Regions from separate parts of the Homo sapiens genome. Here all the other regions are linked to region 2. The links are contacts of gene promoters, found by promoter capture Hi-C in blood cells and fetal thymus (Javierre and others, 2016). All regions are on one chromosome and are shown on one strand. Each heading gives the region's core, a stretch centred on a gene start or on the middle of the fragment in contact. The rest is flanking DNA. Distances are from core to core; before and after follow the strand shown. Region 1 holds the start of C5orf24 (chromosome 5 open reading frame 24). Region 2 holds the start of HSPA4 (heat shock protein family A (Hsp70) member 4). Region 3 holds the start of DDX46 (DEAD-box helicase 46). Region 4 overlaps SAR1B (secretion associated Ras related GTPase 1B). Region 5 holds the start of PPP2CA (protein phosphatase 2 catalytic subunit alpha). Region 6 holds the start of UBE2B (ubiquitin conjugating enzyme E2 B).

The links. The method cuts DNA at HindIII sites, captures the fragments that hold promoters and counts their contacts. A CHiCAGO score of 5 or more calls a contact.
Region 1: a fragment that was not itself captured here is called in contact with the fragment with the promoter of HSPA4 in region 2 in 1 of 17 cell types (fetal thymus); the score reaches 7.3 in fetal thymus.
Region 3: a contact is called between the fragment with the promoter of DDX46 here and the fragment with the promoter of HSPA4 in region 2, in 2 of 17 cell types (total CD8 T cells and naive CD8 T cells). The highest score is 8.0, in total CD8 T cells.
Region 4: a contact is called between a fragment that was not itself captured here and the fragment with the promoter of HSPA4 in region 2, in 1 of 17 cell types (monocytes). The highest score is 5.4, in monocytes.
Region 5: a contact is called between the fragment with the promoter of PPP2CA here and the fragment with the promoter of HSPA4 in region 2, in 1 of 17 cell types (fetal thymus). The highest score is 6.4, in fetal thymus.
Region 6: a contact is called between the fragment with the promoter of UBE2B here and the fragment with the promoter of HSPA4 in region 2, in 2 of 17 cell types (fetal thymus and non-activated CD4 T cells). The highest score is 8.0, in fetal thymus.

The regions. Positions count from the first base shown.
Region 1 is chr5:134,845,019-134,847,718 of GRCh38, reverse strand. C5orf24 (chromosome 5 open reading frame 24) reads right to left here and starts at 1,751. Exons shown (of 2, transcript NM_001135586.1): 1 at 1,507-1,751. RefSeq lists silencers at 1,326-1,375, 1,406-1,785 and an enhancer at 1,305-2,040. The HindIII fragment of the contact is 1,128 bases long and covers 718-1,845 here.
Region 2 is chr5:133,050,642-133,053,341 of GRCh38, reverse strand. It overlaps HSPA4 (heat shock protein family A (Hsp70) member 4), which reads right to left and starts at 1,329. Exons shown (of 19, transcript NM_002154.4): 1 at 985-1,329. The coding sequence starts at 1,091. RefSeq lists enhancers at 1-115, 1,354-1,533, 1,724-1,773, 1,844-1,893, 1,080-2,042. The HindIII fragment of the contact is 9,846 bases long and covers 1-2,117 here.
Region 3 is chr5:134,757,403-134,760,102 of GRCh38, reverse strand. It overlaps DDX46 (DEAD-box helicase 46), which reads right to left and starts at 1,324. Exons shown (of 23, transcript NM_001300860.2): 1 at 1,148-1,324. The coding sequence starts at 1,164. RefSeq lists an enhancer at 1,060-1,549. The HindIII fragment of the contact is 1,728 bases long and covers 332-2,059 here.
Region 4 is chr5:134,629,903-134,632,602 of GRCh38, reverse strand. All of the region lies in intron 1 of SAR1B (secretion associated Ras related GTPase 1B), which reads left to right. Among named protein-coding and RNA genes, the nearest start is that of SAR1B, 1.6 kb to the left of the region's middle. RefSeq lists a silencer at 1-63. The HindIII fragment of the contact is 918 bases long and covers 851-1,768 here.
Region 5 is chr5:134,224,646-134,227,345 of GRCh38, reverse strand. PPP2CA (protein phosphatase 2 catalytic subunit alpha) reads left to right here and starts at 1,273. Exons shown (of 7, transcript NM_002715.4): 1 at 1,273-1,586. The coding sequence starts at 1,485. It overlaps MIR3661 (microRNA 3661), which reads right to left and starts at 1,589; the gene lies at 1,494-1,589. PPP2CA-DT (PPP2CA divergent transcript) reads right to left here and starts at 936. Exons shown (of 1, transcript NR_186539.1): 1 at 1-936. RefSeq lists enhancers at 1-492, 334-493, 493-1,014, 1,015-1,534, 1,874-1,983. The HindIII fragment of the contact is 2,287 bases long and covers 64-2,350 here.
Region 6 is chr5:134,370,185-134,372,886 of GRCh38, reverse strand. UBE2B (ubiquitin conjugating enzyme E2 B) reads right to left here and starts at 1,318. Exons shown (of 6, transcript NM_003337.4): 1 at 1,248-1,318. The coding sequence starts at 1,291. It also overlaps a transcript of CDKL3 not described here. RefSeq lists enhancers at 986-1,085, 2,026-2,095, 1,604-2,199 and a silencer at 1,506-1,555. The HindIII fragment of the contact is 3,578 bases long and covers 1,089-2,702 here.

The DNA.
Region 1 (2,700 bases), core at 32-2,531, 1.8 Mb before region 2:
AAAAAAAAAAAAATAGGATGAATACTACATTTCCAGACAGCGTGGACTGAATAGAAGCCAAGAGTTATAGAACAGGTTGTGTAGACTATCAAAGGTTAAAGATCATCTTTTTAAATAGTTACTGAAGCCGGGTGCAGTGGCTCACGCCTGTAATCCCAGCACTTTGGGAGGTTGAGAAGGGTGGATCACGAGGTCAGCAGTTCGAGACCAGCCTGGTCAACATGGTTAAACACCATCTTTACTAAAAATACAAAAATTAGCTGGGTGTGGTGGCGCATGCCTATAATCCCAGCTACTTGGGAGGCTGAGGCAGGAGAATTGCTTGAACCCGGGAGGCAGAGGTTGCAGTGAGCCGCGATCGCGCCACTGTACTCCAGCCTGGGGGACAGAGTGAGACTCCGTTTCAAAAAAAACAAAACAAACAAAAACAACCAATAAATAGTTCCCTGAATGTACAGGAGTCAACTAAGAGCTTCTATATATTTGGACTGTGACTAAATTCGAATACTTAAAGCATAAGCTAAAACTTACCATCCTTGAAGTTGTTTTATTGTGTTTAACTCCTAAAGTTTAACCCCTAAAATGAGCCGTTCTTTATAGAACAATTCCTTTCTCTTCTCTTGAATGTGGCAGTCATTACTGCCAACATAAAGAAATGTAACTATTTTTAGTAACTTCACAAAGCATCCCTGAAGCTTTCTAAACATGGAGAAAGCTTCCTTTCAAGAAACCCAAGTTCTGTTCTCCAAAGATCAAAGATCACGTAATTCTCAGAGATTTATTTCAGGTCATTTGACTAACTATTATGTATAATCATATACGTTTCATAATTCTAAATGAAGATTTGCAACTCACCTCAATCACTCTGAAAGTCCATTCAGCAGAGGCCAATAGCCACGCACCCTGCCCCACCACGGAAAGTTTTGATAATAGGACGGCACATAAATAACGGCCTCCTTTGTCTTCTTCCTGCTCCTTAACTGTGCCCCACGGTGCACAAATAAGGACTCTCCTTATTTTGACACGAGGCGTTTAGAATGTATTACCTGTTGTGTGCTGAAAGCGACTATTAGCGTATTGGCAATAACAAGTTTGCAGAAGATGCACGCCACCCTAGAGAAAGGGTTGTGTACCCTCTAAAAAGCAAAATTCATAAGCCGCTATCCGTCCACTCGGAGTTCCGCAAGCGTAGAAGTCCACGGGCACTCCATCGCGACGCCGATCTCGAGCCGGCAGGCTTTTATTTAAAGGCGAAGGGCGGACTGCGGATTCTGACCTCTCAAAGAAAAGAAAGGGGGCTCCCTCCCCCCGCCGCAGGAGGAATGTCCCCCCGTAATGGCTCCACACCGGGGAAGAGCAGGCTACGTCCGGGGCCCCTCCTCTCACTCCGGCTACACTAGGGCCCCTTGGCAGGAGGCCTCTTCTCCCCGGTCAGCGAGGCGCCCGTTCTCGCCGCCGCCCTACCCCGCTCCCGGCCGGCTGACCAGCCCGCGCACCCCTACCTACCTCAGCCGCTCGTAGCCCGGCCCCTCGGCGCGTCTAGGGGCTTCCCAGCGGCTGGGAACCTCGTGCTGGCGCCGCTCCCTCCCCAGCCCGCCGCCTCTGCACGGTGCGGAGAACGGGCCAAGACGGAGTGGCAGGCAGCGAGGGCGGCGGCGAGGCAGGCGCTGGCTCCCAGCACCCGCCGCGGCCGCCGCGCACGGTCCTGCCCCGGACGCAGTACGAAGAGGCCGCTACCACCCTGTAGTGTTAGAGGCGGCGTGCGCGAGCTCGCGAGGGCCGCGCACGCACACGCTCACTCGCATCGCGAGACCCGATCTCCCGCCGCCAACCTGCACGCAAGCTTTGGGAGGGAGCCAGGCTGGCAGGCTGCGCTTGCGCGTCGTGGCCTTAAGCCTGAGCTGCTGGTGATCCGGCGTGGACCGTCCCCAGTGGCTGGGGTTGAGGAACCCACCAAATGGGGAATTAATAACTTCCTTACTTGTATTGGTTTTCACCACAATTCTGAGATGCTGGAACTCCTGCTGACCCCATTTCTTAGATACAGGACAAATAAATGATAGTCAGGGGAGTTGGGACTCTTCATGCCCAGGATCATGTGATAATGAAAAGCTTTATTTTATGGGACATCCTATGATCCACGCAGATTACAGGCGTAAGCCACCACGCCCCAGGAATTGTCGCATTCATTATTCCATAATCACAGGAAAGGATGGAACAACAAACTACCGCTATTATGTTTTTCTTGTGAGATATCTGACATATCAGTCACCTCACACAAACCCACTTAGAAGGGATTCATTTCCTCACTCCTTCCTCCTGTGAATTTCCAGATGTCAGAATGGAGAGGATCCAGAATTAGGGCAGCTACTGAAAGGGAGACACTTTATTAAGCAGTGGGAAGAGGCTAGAGGAGGATGCTTGCCCTTTTCCCCCATGTAATGAAGGATATTTGAGGATGGACAATTCATAGAACTGAGTTCTACCATAAGCACAGCCCTGAGCCAGGTACTGCCCTGCCAGTAGGAAAGAAAGGAGGAGAAACAACTTTTCTGGACAAACACACAAGCCAGGACACAACACACGAAACAAGCAAGCCCATTCATTCAAACTACTGAGGGACTGGAGACAGATAAGCCATGTGAACAGTTGATCAAACCTACACCAATAAAAACTCTGGACAGCCTGGGTGCGGTGGCT
Region 2 (2,700 bases), core at 80-2,579:
AAAAAAAAAAAAAGAAGAGAGACCCTGAATGGCAAATAATACAGAACTTCTTACAAGATTTTGTCTAAGAACACGACAACGGATTAAAATGTATCTACAAGTATTCAAAAGGCAGACACTGTAACCAGTGAAAGACCTGAGTGACCCACCATTTTTTAGAACTGTGTCTATGCTGGTCCCAAAACTTACTATGGGTTCTAGAAGTCAAGGCGGGCCCTTGAGCCACTAACAATTGTGGCCAACACACTGGTTAGAATGCATTATCGTTAAAGTGCAACCCTATTGAGGGGTTAACGCGCACAAAACAGAGAGTGACCCAATATAGCACAATATCCCGAAATAATGTGGAAAACAAAAGCGATTGCAAAGTTATCATAAGAGCACCGATTTTATTAAATTCCTATCCGTGCCAACCCAATCTCAAGACCCCGAGTCCATCCGGAACCCGTGCCTGAGGCTGCTCCAGCTCGCTCTCTTCCGGGCGCTGCCCCGCCCCCACTCACGTGGGACGCTGACCGCTCCACGGTCTCGCGGCTGGCAAGCCCCAGAACCCGTTCGATTCAACTATTATTAAGCGCCTGCTGTGTGCAAAGTTCTGAGCTTTCTGTTGGACTCAAAAGACTCAGTACGACCTGGGCCTGGTCTCTGCCCTCAAGAAAAGGACCGCGATCCGTTTACATCCTAGGCCTGCAGTCCTTCCAGTTCCTACCCGTGCCCTCCGCTGGTCCGAGTACCGGCCAGAAGCCTTTCTTCGGCCGACGGGCCACCGGGGAAAAGGCCCTCGCGCTTAGCACACACCCACGCTCATAGTGGGCCGCGGCCCCTAGTGTCCTAATACCTACTGGGGGTCCCTGACCTACCGGGACCTCGGCTCGGAACGGAGGCGACTCCTCGGCCCGCGTTCCCCAAGCAGCGAGGGTCCCAGACTGGAACAAGCATTATCTCCTAACCCCAGTGCACGCGGCAGGCCCGGCCCACACTTACGGCGTGCAGCGGTCGCTATACTCATTAGCGATAGTCTCGATGCCGCCGGCGCGGGCCACAGCGACGTAGCAGCTCTGGAAGCCCAGGTCTATGCCCACCACCGACATGGCGCCGGCTACTGCTCGGGCTCGGGCCCGGGTCCGGCCACCGAGACAGGACACGGACCCCCGGCGGGGCTAGCGAGTGGAAAGCAGGCCTCTTGGGCCGAGGCTACTGAGGGGCTTGCGGTGTCCACGCGAGCGCCTAAGTCCTTCCAGTGGGTACTGCAACCGAGAGCGCTGCTCAGGCCGGCTCCGGCTCAGTGGCCGCAGAGGAGGCGCCGGTAGCGGGGGCGGAGAAGATCTCGAAAGATCTCGTTGCGACGAGAGCGGAGCCGCAGCACCAGAGCTACGAAAGAACGGGATGTTCTCGCGATATCCCGGCTCAGGCGCTTTTCCCCTTGAGGCCCCGCCCCCAGTACGTCTGAATACGTCACGTCCTGGCTCGAGAACCTGGGAAAGGACTGGGTGGCTGAAAGATGGCTGGAAAGCGCATTTAGCCAACCGAGCCTGCGCATGGAACCTGCGGCGCTGCACAGCTGCATAGAGATGTGGAGCACCTCCCTTTACCGTAGAAAGTAGGCGAGCCAGCTCGAGGCACTATACTGAGGAAGCGCTGCGGCCTACTTCCGCCGTTTTTCTTAACATCAAAGAAACTTCCGGTAGTGGGGTGTCTTGCATTCCACCGTGTCGGTGCCCCAGAATGAGACGCAAGCTGATCTGCAGATCCCGCAGGGTGCCTTCTGCTCTTTTCGGGGCAGGTTGGCCGGTAGGGGAGAAGGCCGCCATTGGAACGCGGCCTTTATGTCGGGTTCTCTCAAGAGTCTAAGATCGCACCCTCACCAGCGGAGGGAAGGAGCCCACTCCCAGCCACACCGCTTTGTTTTCTTTCGCTTAGCCTTGTTGCGCCGTTCTCTAAGCCACTCATGTCCTTAGATCAGATTGAGGGGCCCGCAGGATTTAAGCCTTTAATCCACAGCACATTCCAAGCACCTACCCGGTGGTAGGCCCTAACAAGGAACACAGGCAAGTGACACGCTGCCTGGCCTGAAAGGTCCGCTCAGACCTTTACATGAAGTTAATAAATGTTAAGCTTCAGGGCCCCTCGCTTGTATGGCCTCCTGGGAGAATAGATAGTTGCTGAGTTGTGGAGAGGGGAAGCCAGCTTGAGATTAGGAAGCAAATCTATGTAAGCATTTCTAATAAATTACCCAGAGAGATCTAAGGAGAATCTGAATCTCCAAGTCTCTAGTAATGTGTTGTGATTTGTCGTTTTAATTATTTGTTTTGTGTATTTGTAGGGCCCCCCAATGGTATATAAGTTTCACCTCTGCAAAACCTGGATCATCCCCATCATGAGGGTGGCTAAACAAGTAAAGGTGACCCCAGTACAGAATGGCGAGTGCTATATGCACAGAATGGTGGAGACTAGGACAACTTCCCAGAAAAGGAAAAGGCTGTGTTCAAGTTTGGAAAACTAGCAATAGAGACCATAGTTTAAGGACTAAAAAGAAATTCTCCGTTGCTGGAGGGTACATCATGAGTTGAAGGTCTCAAGGCTAGAGTACCTGCCCTTCAGCCATTTTAAAAGTGAATGAGCAAAGAAGAAATTACATTGCCCTGGTATGCCCTTCCCTTTAAATACCTGCATTTCCTGCCACCTCCGGAGGTACTTCAC
Region 3 (2,700 bases), core at 75-2,574, 1.7 Mb before region 2:
AAGGGATCTAACAATTAGGAGAGCAACAGAGGAAGACAATCAATTCAGAGAATCAATTTAAAACAGATGTAGTAGTCTGGACAATAAATAATTAGGGCCTCAATTAAGTCAGGGACAACCAGAATGGGCAAAGGATGTAGAATCTAACAGGCTGTGGGTAGTGAGAGAGAAGAATGAGTCAAATAAATATCACTTTCAGATTTCTGGTCTGGACAGCCTTCCGGAGATTTAAAACACCGTCACAGGAATTTTCTGTAGTTAAAGAAATATTTTTTATCTTCATCCAGGTGATGATTACACGGTTTATATATTTGCTAAATTTCATCAAGCTTTACCCTTACGTTTTGTCCATTTCCCTGATTGTTAATTGTACCTCAACAAAGAACTGTTAGCACTAACAACAAAAGCCTTCATTGTTCCTAGACATAAAATATCTTTCAGTCATTGCTAAATACATAGCAAATAGTCATTTTTAACATAAAAATCTCAAGGTTCCTAACAATCTATCAACAATCTAAAGTTGTGATGAGATCTAATGAGTTCTAATAAGAGCTCATAGTCCACAACTTCAAAAGGACAGAAAAGCAGGTAACAAAGTTACCTGCTTAAATACGAAATCTATTTGCGAAGTAAATGCCCACGCAACAAGTATTTATTGTAGCCCAGTAAAAGCCTAGTCGTGTATAGTGCTGTCGATGCGGTAAAAATGTCTGCCCACACGCTCCTTTCAAGTAACTTGGGAAAAGATCATACGCGCACAAAGAACTAAAATACAGAATGACAGGAGTCGAGGAAATGTTGGAAACGCGAAGCAATAAGCAATCCAACTGGGATCACTTCTGACTGAAGTAATCAGGGCAGGCTCCCTTGAAGTGGCGGGATGTGGTGCCCAATCACTAACGTCCTGGAGGGTTGTTCCCGCTCCAGGGGCTCGAACCCTCTGATGGTAGTGCAGGGGAAGCCGTCGCTGGCCCAAACACAACCATTCCCTCAGCCGAGGTCCCCCAGCCCTTCCAATGCTCGCGGGGCAGCGCTGACCGCACGTGGGGCCGCGCCAGGCCTGGCCCGGCGGCCACCTCAACTCCCGCCTCTTCTCACGACCCCAAGAAGCCGCTCGCCCGCTAGCCCGCTCGGCGCTCTGCCTCACCGTGACTCCCGACCCATGCTGCCGACCGCGGGAATACTGGTGCCCTTGAGTACCACGCACAGGCGAACCGGACAAACAAGGAGGCTGAGCTGCCCTCAACGCCCGGCAAAGACCAGCGCTAAACACTAGCAGCACCTACAGCTGTGGCGGCCATCCCAGCGCGGCCAACGAAAACAGGACGTGCTGGCGCCGGCAGCCGAAGGAAGAGAAAAGCCGACCGGAAGCTGCCGCTCTTCCACAGCGCCCCACCTCGACTGGAGGACGCACAGCGCCGGCCCCATCGAAAGGTGATGCCTTCGCCCCGCCCAGTCTTCCCGGCGCCCGCACCACGCCCGGCTGATTAGTGCGATGGAGCGCAGCGCGTCAGCCTCGCCGGCCCGTGAGGGTGTTTCGCGCCAGAGCCAAAGAGGCGTCCTGGGCAGGCTGATGTCTGCCTTAATTTGCGCTAAATAATGCGGCAACTTTCTCCGTACACGCTCTTTATTCATGTATACATTCACTCATTTATTTATGTTGTCATATGCCAGGCTTGTGCTAGATCCTGGGGAGCTCACAGTCTATCCGGGAAACAGATGACTAAAGCCAGCACAGTGGCTCACGCCTGAAATCCCAGCACTTTGGGAGGCTGAGGCGGGAGGATCTATTGAGCCCAGGAATTCAAGACCTGGGCAACGTAGCCCTCGTCTCTGCAAAGAAAATAGTAATAATAATAGACTTGACTAAAAACACAAGCAGAAGTAATACAGCAAGGAGAGTCCACCATTGGAGACGGATTCAGAAAACACGTTTCCCTTGGAAGTGAACTCTGAGGTGAGATTTGAAGACCCGGTAGGTGTTAACCTAGTAGAGAACAAAGAGCTAAAAATACTTTGGCAAAAGATTAGTTCTCAACATTGCTTGCACTGGGAAGCTTAAAAATAAAACAAAAAAACAAAAAAAGGGCCAGCCATGGTGGCTCATGCCTATAATCCCAGCACTTTGGGAGGCCGAGGCAGGAGGATGGCTTGAGCCCAGGAATTCAAGACCTACCTGGGCAACATAGCGAGACCCTCTACAAAAAATAAGCAAAATAATTAGCCAGGTGTGCTGGCACGCCTGTGGTTCTAGCTACTTGGGAGGCTGAGGTGAGAGGATCATTTGAGCCAGGGAGGCTGAGGCAAGAAGATTACTTGAGCCCAGGAGTTTGAGGCTGCAGTGAGCTATGATGACTCCAGCCTGGGTAGCACAGAGAAATCTCATCTCTAAAATATTAGTAAATAAAATAGAAGCCTGGGTTCCACCCCTATGTTCTGATTTAATTGGCCTGGAGTGCTTCTTGTGCACTGGGAATTTTTAAGCTTCCCAGGTAATTCTGAAGTACAGTCAAGATTGAGAACATTATTCGAGAGTTTGGGCACCAAAAAAATGTATATGTATTGTCTCATGCAACACACACAGAAATGTTGAATTTTTTTTGTTTTTTTTTTTTGAGACGGAGTTTCGCTTTTGTTGCCCAGGCTGGAGTGCAATGGTGAGAGCTCAGCTCACCACAACCTCCACCTCCTGGGTTCAAG
Region 4 (2,700 bases), core at 60-2,559, 1.6 Mb before region 2:
GTTTTTCACCCCGGGGTTAGGCGGCGCGAGGGAGGACAGGTCTCATCCATGCTCCGCGGGGCCGTCTGATAGCCCTCGAGGCAGAACACTGCTGCTGTCAGACGCTTGGTCTTTTCAGGAAAGAACGAGGTGGCTGCAGGCAAGCCCCTTCCTTCCCCTGGGCCTCAGTTTCCTTACCTGGTAAGGTGAAGGTGGCGGGTCTCACTGACAGCTGAAGAGGCTGTGACACGGCCTGGTGTTTTCAGCGCTCCCAATTAGTGTAGAGGCAAATTGAGCTTCCTTACTAGTACTGGTTAACGTTTTCCGTAGCCCAAAGTCCCAGTTAAGTGGAAAAAAGATACACTGTTGAGAAAACTGTACTGATTTTTGTTTTAATTTTTTAAATTTTTGTTGTTGTTTTGAGACAGAGTTTCCCTCTTGTCGCCCAGGCTGGAGTGAAGTGGCACGATCTCGGCTTACTGCAAGCTCCGCCTCCCGGGTTCACGCCATTCTCCTGCCTCAGCCTCCCGAGTAGCTGGGACTACAGGTGCCCGCCACCACGCACCGCTAATTTTTTTGTATTTTTTAGTAGAGATGGGGTTTCACCGTGTTAGCCAGGATGGTCTCTTATCTCCTGACCTCGTGATCCGCCTGCCTCGGCCTCCCAAAGTGCTGGGATTATAGGCGTGAGCCACCGCATCCGGTCTAACTTTTCTATTTTTAGTAGAGATGGGATTTCTCTATGTTGGCCAGTCTGGTCTCCAACTCCTGACCTCAGGTGATCTGCTCGCCTCGGCCTCCCAAAGTGCTGGGATTAAAGGCATGAGCCACCTCAGTGGGCCACTGTACTGATTTTTAAGGTGTTGAAGCTTTTCCAAGAAGATTTGTTTTAAAACAGCTAAAACTTTGACATTGTTAGCTGAAAGAACCAAATTCGTCAGCAATTTAAGGTGTTTGGTACAGTGGACAAAATGAGGTGAAGAAGTCCTTTTAACTTGAAAAATTAAACATAGTATTATTTATTTGTGTGTTCTTACATCAGCCTCTATATTACTAAGTGTCTTTGAAGACGTCCTATATTCCGTGTTAAAGTATCAGTGAAGAGTAGGTCACATTGAAACAATGAAAGAAGGAAAGAAAAGGAACATTTATTGACTACTATGAGTAAGGCACTAGCTGTCATTTTACAGATGACAAATAAATGGTGGTGCCAGTATAGCAAAGCAACATGATTATCTACTATTATACCTTTCAGTAGACTTGTGTCTGTCACCAAAATGTTTTGAACTTAAAAAATGTTAAGATAGTTCATTGGCATTTTCTGAGTTTGTAGAAAAGGAAGGTGTCTTCATTTTAGAAATGTCAGAGATGCACTGTCAGTAATTACAAAGATTAGCAGTTTAAATAAGGTATATTTTAACCTTCCTTTGACTTGCATTATTGTACTGGAATAGAAATTCAAGCAAGAATTAAGAAAAAAGATGAGTCTAACAGAAATGAAAATCAGCCTGGGCAACATAGCAAGACCCAGTCTCTACATTAAAAAAAAAAAAATTTGCTGGGTGCAGGGCCCTGGCTAGCAGGCCAGTAGTCCCAGCTACTCGCTGCTGAGATGGGGGGTTTGCTTGAAGCCAGGTCAAGACTACAGTGACCTGTGATCATGCCACTGCACTCCAGCCTGGGTGAAAGAAAAAGACATTGTTGCTAAAAAAAAAAAAAAAAAAAAAAAAAAAAGAAAAAAAAAGAAATAGAAAAGGAAATGAAAATCATTGCCACATCATTTGAAGCTTACAAGTTGGAATGCTATATTAGTATTTCTTTTCTTTTTTCTTTTTTTTTTTTTTTGAGACGGAGTCTCGCTCTATCGCCCAGGCTGGAGTGCAGTGGCTCCAGGCTGACTGCAACCTCCACCTCCAGGGTTCAAGTGATTCTCCTGCCTCAGCCTCTCAAGTAGCTAGGATTACAGGCATGCACCACCACATCCTGCTGATTTTTGTATTTTTAGTAGAGATGGGGTTTCACCATGTTGGCCAGGCTGGTCTTGAACTCCCGAACTCAAGTGATCTGTCCGGCTTGGCCTCCTAAAGTGCTTGGATTACAGGCGTGAGCCACTGTGTCCTGCTATAGGTGTATTTCTACACTTACTTTTTTTTTTTTTTTTTTTTTTGAGATAGAGTTTCGCTCTTGTTGCCCAGGCTGGAGTGCAATGGCGTGATCTCCAGCTCACTGCAACCTCTGCCTCCTGGGTTCAAGCGATTCTCCTGCCTCAGCCTCCCGAGTAGCTGGGATTACAGGCATACACCACCACACTCAGCTAATCTTGTATTTTTAGTAGAAACAAGATTTTTCCTTTTTGGTCAGGCTGGTCTCGAACTCCCAACCTCAGGTGATCCGCCCCCCTCAGCCTCCCAAAGTGCTGGGATTACAGGCGTGAGCCACCTCCCCCAGCCTTCTACACTCATTTCGTTAAGTACTCACTTGGCTGAGCATAGTATTTCTACGCTCGCTCACTTTAAATACTCATCCCAACTCGGGGTTTCACTATGTTGGCCAGGCTGGTCTCGAACTCCTGACCTCAAGTGATCTGCCTGCCTTGGCCTCCTAAAGTGCTGAGATTACAGATATGAGCCACTGTGCCCAGCCCTCACCTTGGCCACTCTTAAAAATTTTCTACTATTTATATTTGTCATGGTTTTATCCTTCGTTTTCTTTTTCTTTTTT
Region 5 (2,700 bases), core at 24-2,523, 1.2 Mb before region 2:
AAGACAGGCGATCAGGTTCAGCTCTTGCCTTGCCCTTTATGGTTAAATGTTCTTTGGAAAGCTTCTATATCTTTCAAATCCTGGGGGCATTATGATCTCTCTTCTGCCTATCCCAAACCATCTTCAGCCAGTACTGTTGGGAGAATACAAGCTCCAGGGCATGGTCCCTGGTCCGTCTGGATGACCCCTCCGGATCTGGCATATAGCTGGCGCTCTATGGAACCAGATATTTATGTAAAAGCAGGGACAATGGAATGTGAAAACGTTTCGCAAACTCCAAAGCGATTCATAACCAGACAGAGGTCCAATCCTAGGGTATACGAGCTCTCTCTTTTAAGCACGTATCACAGCTGCTTCTCACGCCACCGAGACGCGGTCAGGACAGGTGCATCCATCTTCTCTGGGCTTCCCCTCTTGAAAGTAGGCCAGGGCGCGCAGGGGTTGAGGGTCTCTCATTCCCAGAGAGAATTAAACTTGGAGGAAAGCAACCACCGGCGAGGAGCGGGGCGCGTGGAAGCGAGCCGCGGTCCGAGGCCCAAAGAAAAGCCCAAGCCTCGCCCCCGCCATCGCGCCCGACGAGACACCTAGGTCCGGGGACGGGTGTGTGCCGCGGAAGTCAGGTGCACTGCGCAGCACTCCCCCGGTAGGTACACGCTCCTCCACCTACGAGTGACCTAATTACAAGGTGCCAGCCGCGCCCAGAGGTGGGGGTGGTTAATCCAAGCGGCCACTCGCTGCCCGTTCCTGCCCCCAAAGATGACGGAAACCCACACGATTACAGAGCCGCAGCACCCCAGATGAGCCACGGGGTCGCAATTCTCGTTTCCGTGATCGGACTGCCAGGCCCCAGGTGAGGAGCTGAGTTCATCACCAGAGCGGCCTTCCCAGGGGAACCAGTTACAGGCTGCCAGTGGCCCCGGCTTCCATCCGGTCTGCGCCTGCGCGCGGCCCAAGCCCTCGCCTCTCCTGGAATAGTGCTCAGGGATTAGTCCGGTTCGCCGCTGTGCGCACTGCGCATGCTCCAGCTCCATCCTTCCCTTCCCCCACCACCCCGCCCTCCGGGAGCCACGCCCAAAAAGTCAAGGCGCTTCAGTTACCAGCCGGCTACGTCGCGCCTGCGCTTTGACCCCCAGTTTGCGCCCCAACTCCGGTCGTGCGGCCGCCCGGGGAGGGCTCTGCAGTTGCGCAGCTTGCTCCCCGGCCCTTTTCCCCTCCGCTCCCCGCCGCCTCCTGACGCCGGGCGTGACGTCACCACGCCCGGCGGCCGCCATTACAGAGAGCCGAGCTCTGGAGCCTCAGCGAGCGGAGGAGGAGGCGCAGCGGCCGACGGCCGAGTACTGCGGTGAGAGCCAGCGGGCCAGCGCCAGCCTCAACAGCCGCCAGAAGTACACGAGGAACCGGCGGCGGCGTGTGCGTGTAGGCCCGTGTGCGGGCGGCGGCGCGGGAGCAGCGCGGAGCGGCAGCCGGCTGGGGCGGGTGGCATCATGGACGAGAAGGTGTTCACCAAGGAGCTGGACCAGTGGATCGAGCAGCTGAACGAGTGCAAGCAGCTGTCCGAGTCCCAGGTCAAGAGCCTCTGCGAGAAGGTGAGCTGTAGTACGGCTGCGGACAGCCGCCGCGGGGCCGAGCCCGCCGAGGAAAAGGCGGCCGTGAGGAGGGTGCAACATGGCGGAGGCCGCCGGTCCGGGCCCCCCGAGTCTCCGAGACCGGCGCCCATCCTGGCCGGCGGCGGCTTCCTAACGACCCGGCGCCCCCTGCCTCCCGCGCAGGGATTGGTTGCCGCCGCCGCCTAAAATGGCGCCGTTCACTCGACTCCTGGGCTTTTGAGTCAGCCGGCCTTGGCGCCAGACGAGGTGGCAGGGGGAGCGGAGACCCTGTGGGTCATCGTCAGGGACGGTTTTGAGGGTGAGCTGGCTTGGATTCTGCGGCTTGGGAATGGAGCCTGGGCCTCTCCGGTGGGCTGAGTAAGAGTCTTGCCGCTGGTACCCAGGCCTAGTTAGGTCCAGAGCTGCCCAGAGGATCCCCCAAAGGCAGTCTTGTTAGGCCGTATCCCAGAACATACCTAAAGGTCACACAGCTTTAGTACCCCTTGGTGGTTTGTATTAAACTCACCAAGCGATCTTCTCCAGAAATCAAGGTAAGGGGTGTCTTTAAGAATTTTTAAATTATTCTCTTAACCTAATTTTTACGAAGGTCATGGTGGTAGCTATAAGGGAGGAGTGTAACTTATTTTTCATAGTTGGAAGAAATCGGGAATTTGGTGAGTCATACTACATAAGGAGCTTTTGGATTGGAAATCAAGTGTCGGTTGAATATGATTTATATGCTGACTCAAAGCCTTCTCTAAGCTTAACACACTTGGCATTTTGCCGTTTATTTTTAAAATGAACAACATAAAATGGAAGAGCGGTAAATTTTGTATCTTTGTTGCAAAAATTACTTGATAGTATTTTGTGGCTGCAAGTAGTAGTAGTGATAATAACTGTCGACTGAGATTGTATTCCAGACATTGTGCTTAGTGTTTAAATAATGTCTCACATACACTGAAAATAGAATGTTGTAGTCCACTTAGTAACACTAAACTTTATATTAGCTAATTCCCTTTTGTTTTCCCCTGGGGGTTGGGGAAACAGGTAGTTAATTTAGCTATTAGCTTTGTGTTGTATTTTTAAATTCTTGTAACTCAGTTTTCTAAAGTAC
Region 6 (2,702 bases), core at 69-2,568, 1.3 Mb before region 2:
TCCTTTCAGAGACTGTAACCTCAATTAAAAATGCTACATTATATACACACACAAATACATATGCAGTTGTTTTTCATGGGGCATCATAATTTGCAACTAGTCCACATTAAAAAAATGGTTTTTAGTCAATCTCAAGCAAATTAGGCCACCACGAACAGAAGCCTTAGAAGAACTGCACTGCTTGACGCCTACCTTTAAATGGCTAAGAGAAGCTACGAATGAATTAAATAAGTTGGCCAAATCCAAGTGCCTCACATAGGCTTTATAATAGCTGAGAGGTGACTTCCTGAGCGACAAATCTAAGTTTTTATGCTAGATATTTTGTTCAATTAGGGCAGGTGTCCCCAGAAAAAATGTTAAGAAAAATGTGCAGAGTATCAAAATGATGTTTTCTCACTTATTTTTTCTATGTCTCTAAGTATCCAATAAAAGGTAAACAACGGAATAATCATTTTCTATCTCACAACCCCAATACCTCCTAACAAAACCCTATTTTATTTACCAAAGGAGGCCCAGGGAGTATCAGATTAGCGCCAGTCTAAGGGAAGGCATTTTTCCAGACTCGGGAGGCTATAGATAGGGGCTTTCTTCACCAGCCAGAGCTGAGTTCCAGAAAGCACTGGCAGCCGGGGTGGCCAGCTCTAAGGTCCCAGATCTCTAAGTCAGTTCCCAAGGTCCTTTCAGGCGGGCGGGGACAGAGTCGGGTTTCGGGGGATGGGTTAACCTCCGGGCCTCACGCACTGGACCCCACCCTCAGGGCACAAATGGAAAGGATTGGCAGGAGTCGGGAGAGGGGTTCGCCCCAACACGGCTCCTCGGAGAAGACGGCGGGGCCGTGAAACAAAGCTGACTGGTGCTGCCGGAGAGGAACAAGCTCCCGCAGGAGCTCACTTTGAGGGGACAAGAAGGGGGCGCCGCAGGGTGCAGGGGCGGGCGGATAATGTCTGATCGCCTGGGCGAGACGCCGGGCAGCTGGCCGAAATGGGCAGCAGGGAACCCTAGACCAGTCGATCGACACCGTTTTACTTTTTGTGGGGAGGGGAAGCAGTATCAAAATTTCTTCGGGCGCCAGAACGAGCGGCAAAGCTTATGGGAGTAGGGCCGAGGCTAGGACCCGGCTTCCGCCAGTCCCGCTGGGCCCACAGCCGGCCCTCTGAGGGTCACAAAGGGGAAGGTGTCTGGGATCCACGCCCTGCAGCCCCGCAGCTTTGAGGGGCCGTCATCTAGGCGAAGGTGAAGGCCCTTACCGCTTGAAATCCCGCATGAGCCTCCTCCGGGCCGGGGTCGACATGCTCCGCAGCTGCCCCGCGGTCAGTCTGAAAAAAAAAAAGTCCCGCGCAGCCCCCCCACCCCCCGGCGCGGCGGCCGAATCACTGTGGATCGCCGCCGCCGCCGCCGCCGCCGCCGCCGCCGAGACTGACAAACAACCCTGCAATGACGTCTCCCTCCGCCGCCTCCGGATCCCTCCGCCCTCCGCCGCTACCACAGTGTGAGTGCTGGGGGAGGAGGGGGCGGGACGCGGGAGCGCGCCTTCCCCGAGCCCTTCAGCGGGGCGCGGTTCCCCCTGGGCTTCCTGAAGTAATAGACAAATTTGTGTTCTCTGTGTTCAGACTAGAGGTTGTGGATTCAAAGACCACGAAACAGAAACACTATCCCGTCTCCCTCCCCGTCACTAGTTTAGGCTCGGCGGGGTGGAGAAAGAGGGACGCATCCGGGCCAGAGATTTCAGGGAAAGGAGGTGGGATGATGTAAGATCACGTGACTGCCCGCGGCCTTGTCAACAATCCACCCCTGAGTGGGAGGGGGAGAAGTATCTAGAACCACGTGTCCCTATGACGCGTTTAGAACGGGTCACGTGAGCGCCTCGCCTGGATGTGAGTTTCAGCCAGGTCTGTGAAGCGGGTTTAAGAGGGTGAGGGCGGGATAAACCTTTATTAGTTGTTTTCTGTTTATCACAGGTATAGAGACAACATTACCCAAGAGGTCATGGCAGAATCAACAGCTTGTTTTGTTTTCTTTAAACCGGGACCAAAAATAATTCCCCTCTGGTTGGTTCAGTGGCTTATTAACTCTGGTACTTGGGGCAAGAAGAGTGAGAGGATCGCACGATCTTCTAAGGCAGCCTTGAATACTGAGGCCCACACAACAATCTCCTGAAATGGTTCCTTGAAGCTACCAGATAGTCTTTCTGCTTTGCAGTGGGGTTTCTAGTATTGGAAATTCTGGGCAAATATTAAAGGATGGTGTATTATGCAGTTTTTCCTTTCTGGGTCTGCTTTCAATTGAAGATATGTGTCAGAGTCCGGGGACTTGCCTATGGTGGGGGAGTACCATTGTATTTTTAAGGAATGTGGGGGTGCAGTCTTCCAAGCATATCAATGAGTGGTTGGTTGTCAAAGAAACCTACAAATATGATTCATATTCTGGGGGAGAGCTCCGGCAGACATGAGTGAGGGTTATATATCTAGCCTGAGATAACTTCAGGTTTTCTACACTAGCAAGAAAGGTGCAAATGGGCCAGAAGGGCCCCCCACCACCAGGGGGTTCAGAGGTGTTGACCTCCCAAAGACCTTGAATATTTTCTGTGGTCACCGTCCTTCCCTCTATTGCTTCCAATTCCTACCTTCAGGACTTTGTTATACTAAGGACTCTGAGTACTTTTGTATCCATTTGGGGAACTGTTCAGTTCAACAGGTAAAGGG